Linked DNA regions of Homo sapiens: region 1 is linked to region 2. Evidence: promoter capture Hi-C in 16 types of primary human blood cells and fetal thymus (Javierre and others, 2016). All regions are on one chromosome and are shown on one strand. The core of a region is centred on a gene start or on the middle of the fragment in contact, and the rest is flanking DNA. Distances in the headings are between cores, read along the strand shown. Region 1 has its middle 83 kb from the start of PRICKLE2-DT. Region 2 holds the start of PRICKLE2-AS3 (PRICKLE2 antisense RNA 3).

What was found. Contacts are between HindIII fragments. The CHiCAGO score rates a contact against its expected background, and 5 or more counts as called.
Region 1: a fragment that was not itself captured here is called in contact with the fragment with the promoter of PRICKLE2-AS3 in region 2 in 1 of 17 cell types (megakaryocytes); the score reaches 6.2 in megakaryocytes.

What each region holds. Positions count from the first base shown.
Region 1 is chr3:64,360,507-64,364,173 of GRCh38, reverse strand. No RefSeq gene overlaps it. Among named protein-coding and RNA genes, the nearest start is that of PRICKLE2-DT, 83 kb to the left of the region's middle. The HindIII fragment of the contact is 1,085 bases long and covers 857-1,941 here.
Region 2 is chr3:64,185,687-64,189,042 of GRCh38, reverse strand. It overlaps PRICKLE2-AS3 (PRICKLE2 antisense RNA 3), which reads right to left and starts at 1,499. Exons shown (of 4, transcript NR_046702.1): 1 at 1,438-1,499. The region is part of intron 2 of PRICKLE2 (prickle planar cell polarity protein 2); the gene reads left to right. The HindIII fragment of the contact is 1,976 bases long and covers 649-2,624 here.

The DNA.
Region 1 (3,667 bases), core at 150-2,649, 180 kb before region 2:
AAATCCAGGACTTGCATCCATAGGGTGAGGAAGGGTGGGAACATTTGTGTATCAATATTTGTCTCATCACATGGTCACCTGTACCTAATGCTGCAGTATGACCTTACAAGATGCTATGGGATTTCATAGTAATGGCCACCAACTCCATCTGGAGAAGTCCTGGGAAACCTCCCACTGGAGGTCTTAGGCTTGGAACTTGGAGTTGAGAGCCAGTGCATTAGCATGACAGCATGAAGCAGTGCACTGTGAATTAGGGAAAAGAAAGACATCCTGGGTGACTGGAATGTCAGAGACTTGGGAAGTAAAAGATAAGTGAGGCTAGACAGGGTTTTGGGGGGCTGAATATGGTATGAGCTAGCTCAACCCAGAAAATCTCTATTCCCTTGTTTCAGATGGCTCCTTAAACCTGCTAGTTGCAAATGATACTTACCTCCTATGACCCTAAGGTGAGGGGTGTGAGATGATGTGGGTCACCCTGGGCAGCCAGGCCTGACCCCACAAAAACTACAGATGTATGCTGGTAGCACCTTCCGTTTTCACAGAAGGTAGTGTTTAATGTTTATTTTCCTGGTTTCACAGTCAGATCACTTTAGGTCACAAGGGACAGAAACCAAACTTAAAGTGACTGATGCAAAAAAGAATATCAGCTCATTTAACTGAGCAGTCAGTGACTGGGGAGGTGGGGTGGGTGTAGCACTGGCTTTAGGCCTGCACACAGGTGGTATGATGATTTCAGTAGAGTTCTCCCCACCCATGAGGTTCTCTCTCCTCTCTCTCCTGCTGTCCCTGGTCTTACCTTCTCTTGGGATAGGCCCCCTTCTTGTGCTTGCAGGAGGGCCCTCAGCAGCCATAAGCTTACATTCTGTTAACATAGTACCCCAGGAAAAGAGAGATTTCCATTTCCAGACACTCCTGCATGCCTCATGAGATTTCCTTGCTCTGAGGTGAGGCACATACCCATCCCTGAACTTTCTAACCATAGGAGGATGGATGGACTATGCTGATCGGCCAATTCTGGCTCAATTTGTACTGCTGTGGGAGCTACCCACAGAGACTGGGAGCAAGAGGCAGGCGGACACCCAGAGGAAAACCTAGGTACTATTACCAGAAGAGTGAATGGATCTTGAAGAGATTTAAACAACAGATGGCCCTAACATACAGCTTCCTTTTCATCTCATATTATCATACGGATGAGCAGTGAGAAAAACGACCCCACTAGAGATCATGAATGTCACAATCATTAGGGCTTTTTATGGAGGGGAGGGGAGAGGTAGAATGACTGCAAGGAAGTAAGTACAGCAGGAAAAGATTTGCAAAGCAGCCCAGCCACTTATTGTGTTTTTTTTTTTTTTTTTTTTTTTTAGTATCTTCTTTGCTGAGGAGTCTTAAGCAAGAAGAGAACTTGATTGCATCTAACTGCTTGTAAAAGTGTTCAAAAGACATTTCATCACACAATTTAGATGGGTAAACACCTGGGAGGTGAACACTATGCATCCAAAGTGACAAACAGGGTGGGAAAGCCTTTCTTCATATTGCAGTTATTTAGGCTTTAGCCATTGCAGCCTGTGTTCATTGCTTAAACTAGAAGGAGTTGTGTTAACTCAGGACAGATGGTGCTTAATACTGACCACACATGAAGACTGGTGGCCCCAGGCTCCAAGGTCAGACAGAAGGCAAGACAGATTTGCTTCCATATGGGATGGGTACCATTAGATGCTAGGATGCTGTAGCTTAGGAGTGAAATTACGGTATTATTTTGGCTACGTGGATATTATTGTTAATCTTGGTAATTTTAACAACCTTGTCATAGCAGGGCTCTCCCATTTACCTAATGCTTTCAGACACCTCTGTTCACTTTATCCTCACAATAGTCGTGTGCAATAAAGTTTGTTTATGTCCATTTCCATAGATACTGAGTGACTGACTCAAGATCTCAAAGCTTTATTGTGTTCGGGCCAACACTTGAGGGTTTGTATCCATGGCTTTGACTCAAAATCCAGGATTGTTTCTACCATTCCGTAATCACTTGCCCAATAGCCCTCCTCAGTTATTAAAGTGATGCATTTCTTTATGTGTCAGGCTCCATAATTAGACTGTCCACATTCAAGGCTTGGCTCACCTTTCTATCCATAGGAGACTTAGTAATCTTCCCCAGCCATCCTTGACCCCATCCTTTTATCTCCAATGCACATACACCCAATGATTCAATGCAGGAGGGAAGAAAATATTAAATATTTTATTCACATTTATTTTTAGATAACTAAACTTCAGTAATCTGTAAATACTTTTATTTTGAAATAATTCTCAGAAAGTTGCAAAGGTAATACTGAGAGCTCCTACATACCCTTCTCCCTGCTTCCCCTAGGGTTAATATATTACAAAATCATTGTACAATATCAAAACTAGGAAATTAACATTAATGCAGTGCTATTAGCAAAACTATAGACCTTATTCAAAATTCAGCAGCTTTTCCATGCATGTTGTTTTTTCCTGATCCTGGATCCTAGCCAGGATCTCACATTGCATTTAGTTGTCCTGTCTCCTCTAGTCTCGTCCTCCAGTCTGCCACAGTTCCTGTCATTGTCTTTCCTAGAGTGTCCTTCCATCTGAGTTTTCTGATATGTTTGCTTGATTAAACTGAGGTGGGCTTTTTTTTTTGTTTGTTTGAGACAGGGTCTGCCTCTGTCACCCAGGCTGGAGTGCAGTGGTGCGATCTTGGCTCACTGTAACCTCCGCCTCCTTGGTTCAAGCGATTCTCCTACCTCAGCCTCCCAAATGGCTGGGATTACATACATGTGTCACCACACATGGCTAATTATTGTATTTCTAGTAGAGATGGGGTTTCACCCTGTTGGCCAGGCTGGTCTCAAACTCCTGACCTCAAATGATCCACCCGCCTCAGCCTCTCAAAGTGCTGGGATTACAGGCATGAGCCACCATGCCTGACCTGAGGTTGGCTTTTTTGACAAGACCACAGAAGCGATGCTGTGCCCTTCTCAGTGCAGCATGTTGGGGGTAGGCGATATGGTGACATTACTGGTTATGCTTACTTTGATCACTCATTTAAGGTACTGTCTACTAGGCTCCTCCACTGCAAAACTCTTTTTCTCTTTGTAATAAGTATCTTGTGGGGAGACACTTTTAAGACTTTGCAAGTATCATGTTTCTCATCATACTTCTGCCCACCCAATTTAGCCTCCATTAATGATTTTTGCTTGCAACACCTATTACTGTGCTGTTTGCTTAATGACCTTGACTATTTTAATACATAAATTCTCTTTAGTGCTTTTACTTAGATGTCATGTTACATGGTCATATGCCAAATATATTTTTCCATTTTCTTTTCCTGTTTCTCTTCACACATGTACACATTTCTTACCCATTTACAATAATAGTTCGTGGACAAGTTTATAAATACGTTGCTCCTTTAAAAAAAAACACACACACAAAAATTTTTCGGGAAGCCTATCACTGACTTATAGAATTGACAGGCGGCTGTTTCCTCAGGCCACTGAGCTCCTGAGTGCTGTGTTTCCATTCTGTTTCATGAGCAGCTTCCTGAGGCGTCTTGCTCAGTGGGCAAATCAGCATGGCGGGGGCCAGCGTCTGGCAGCACCAGTCTCCATGCATCTTGGGAAGCAGATTACGGGAAGTGATGGATGCTGAG
Region 2 (3,356 bases), core at 250-2,749:
TGTGAATAGAAAAGCAAGTACTTCTGCCTTTGTGGAGCTGACAGTTTAGTGAAGGATGCAGACAACTTAATAGCTGAATAACAAGACACATTCAGAGACCGACGTCTATTAACAAAGCAATAAGAAAGGGTGATATGATCTGGAGCAAGGAGTTGACAGGCTTTGTCTGTAAAGATCTAGATAGTAAATATAGGCTTCATGGATTGTACAGTCTCAGTGGCAAATACCCAACTCTGATGTTGTAATGTGAAAGCAGGCATTGGACAATAGGTGAACAAATGGGCATGGTCATGTGACAATAAAACTTTACTTACAAAAACAGGAAGGGGGCCTGATTTGAAACACAGACCCCTGATTTAGAGAATCTATCTACTTTATATTGGATGGCTAAGAGAAGCCTCTCTGCAGAAGTGACATTTGAGCTGGGACTTTACATGGAATGATGGCTTGATTACCCAGATTTGGTCTGCCTCGTCCCGTGGTTTTCAAAACGAGGTTCCCATACCAGTAGCACTAGTATCACCTGGGAACTTGTTAAATGTAGACTCTTGGGACTTGCCCCAGACCAAATAAACCAGAACTCTGAAGATGGAGCCCAACAATCTGTTTCAACAAAGCTTTTAGGTGTTTCTCATGCATGACAAAGCTTGAGAGCCATTACTGTTGGCTAATGGAAAAGCCACATTGCTAGGAATAGATGAGGCCACATCTAGACTCCATCACTTAACTCTGTAACCTTGGGCATCTCAAGCATCAGTTTTCTTAGCTGTAACACGGGGATGCTTCTGCCCAAGTCTAAAGTAGCTAACAGAGAAGAAGTGAATTCATCTTTGTAAGGATCCTAGGACAAAGCAGACACCAAATAGGTCCTCAGCAAATGGTAGCTGCTGTCCTCATCAGAATCATTATTTGAATCTCCAAGACACTGAAGCAGATTTGCGTGCAGATACGGATGAAGGGTGTGCCCCAGAAGCTACCCAATCCCATTCCTGTCTTTTTGCCTTTGACTGGCATGCCCTGGATATCACCCAAATACAAGGCTGATTGTTAAAGGAAAACTCAAGATGCTTTTAAAAGTCTTTCATTGGCCCTGTTTCTTCAGCTCCCTTTCTGGCCTGTTAACCTAGAGCATGCGCTGATACCTTTTACTGCAGGACCGTGAATTATACAGCTGTGACTCACCACCACCCGGCTGGGGCCACAGTGCCAGGCGTCCAGCTTTACCGTTAGCTTTCAGGCTACTGACAGTTTGCTCTTTTATGTGAGAAGCTATTTATACCAGGAGGGACAAAGGCTGGCAGATGCTGGGGGAAGGGAGAGAAGAATGATAAAATGGTTCATCTCCCAAGGTCTGCTGGGTGGTTTTGGCTTATAGGAAAGGAATGCACAATCTAATAGCCCTTCTAAAACCCCCATAAAAACCATCATTAGACTCACCAGCCATTTGCAGAGTGTTGTCTTTATTTCATTACTCCATCAGCACATGCTGAGATCAAAATGGAATTTCATGGTACAGGGAGATGCATGTCTCTCCAACTGAATTGGATTAAATTCCCCCTAAGCTGCATCTCCTAGTTAGCCTTCACTGTCACTCACCTCGGTGTTTTCAATGCAGTTTGAGAGATGAGTTGGGAAGGGAGGGAAGAAGGGGGCAGGGCAGGAGGAGGCTTCAGAGCAGTCCACCTCACTCTTCTTGGGAAGCTAGTCACATGAACAATGCTGTATTTATCTTGGCTCCAGAAATACACTGATGTCATCAGATGGCAATGGGAAATATGCCTGTGTGTGCAGCTTTCACTAAAACTGCCTGTTAATAAACTTGTTTTCAACGGAGCTGTCAGAGTTGGGACTAGAACCTGGGTTCCCAGGCTTCAGGGCCTCTGCCAGATGAAGTCAGCAGCAACACGGCCAGATTCCACCAGCAGGGACTTGTCAAGGCTTGCGTGCAGATTATGAGGCCTAGAAAGGCCAAGGCTCATTTGCAAATGCAGGATGAGAGACCTGCCATTGGAGTTCTAGCTTTCAAGACAGGTATCTCCAACCTTTACAGTAAATTCACTCTGGGGTCCTAAAGTTTGGGACTTGGCCTCTTACTTAGACTTCCTGCATAAATTCACAGCTGCACACCCTTTCTGCTGACTGGGCAGTCTACACTGTAGCCTGGTGTGAGAGTTAATGTAGTATCAAGATGATCTCCTCTGCCTTATGACGCAGGAGATATTTTGAGTAATTTCATGGGATGATTGGATTAATCCACCACCAAATCAGCAAGTAACTAACTTCCTTCCTCAATCTATTTATCTGCCTGTGCCTTCCTTTATGCATTTATTTGTGCATTCAGCCATTTATTCGTTCAACAGTTGTTTATTAAGTACCCATATGTGCAAGCTGTTAGTATAGGTGTGATTTCAATATGGCAGTTTTCCAGGTCCAATCAAAAACTGGAGCTTTCCAACACCAGTCTTTATATGTTGCTTTAGGTGGCCTGGAGCCATACAAAGGTAGATGTAGAAAGTGTCTCATGGAAGACCCATGCAGACATCAGGCTTTGTGCTGGCCTCCGATAACTTCTGTCTTTTGAGTAACTATCCTTCTGGGCTCATAAGTGTTTGAGAGTCTAAGCTTCGATGATAACTAGCTCTGTGTTCAAATTTTAGCTGTGCTGCTTTCCAACATTGGCCAAGTTAATTCACCTCCCCAAACTTTCATCTCATCTTCTGAAAAACAAGGATGTCAGTACTTAACTACAGCATAGTTGTGAAAATTAAATGAAACAATGTTTTAAACATTTGGGGTTTTTAAAGTGGCTGCTCTTAGTTTTCTTTTCCATAGTCAAAAATTGGAAATAACTCAAAAGTCTATCCACAGGTACATGGATAAACATATTGTATTATATCTATATAGTATACTACTACTTCACAATAAAAGTGAATGAACTGTTGATCTATGCAAAGTGAATCAGAGTCTGAGAATCATTATTCCAAATGAAAGAAGCCAGGCAAAATAGTACACACTATGTGATTTCATTTATATAAAACTCTAGAAAATGCAAACTAATCTGTAGTGACAGAAAGCAGATCAATGGTTACTTGGGGATGGGGAAATGAGAGGGAGGAACGACAAAAGGATTGACAAGAGTTCTGGGGGTGATAGGTACATTTGCTATCTTGATTATGTTGATGCTTTCATGGGTACATACATATGTTGGAACTTACCAAATTGTATACTTGCATGTGATTTATTATATGTTGATACCTCGATAAAGTGATGGAATAAATGAATGAATGAAGTTACTCTTTAGCAAACAGGAAGGCAAGCTTCCTCCCATGCCAATGGTGGAGGCTTCCTAAGGTTTC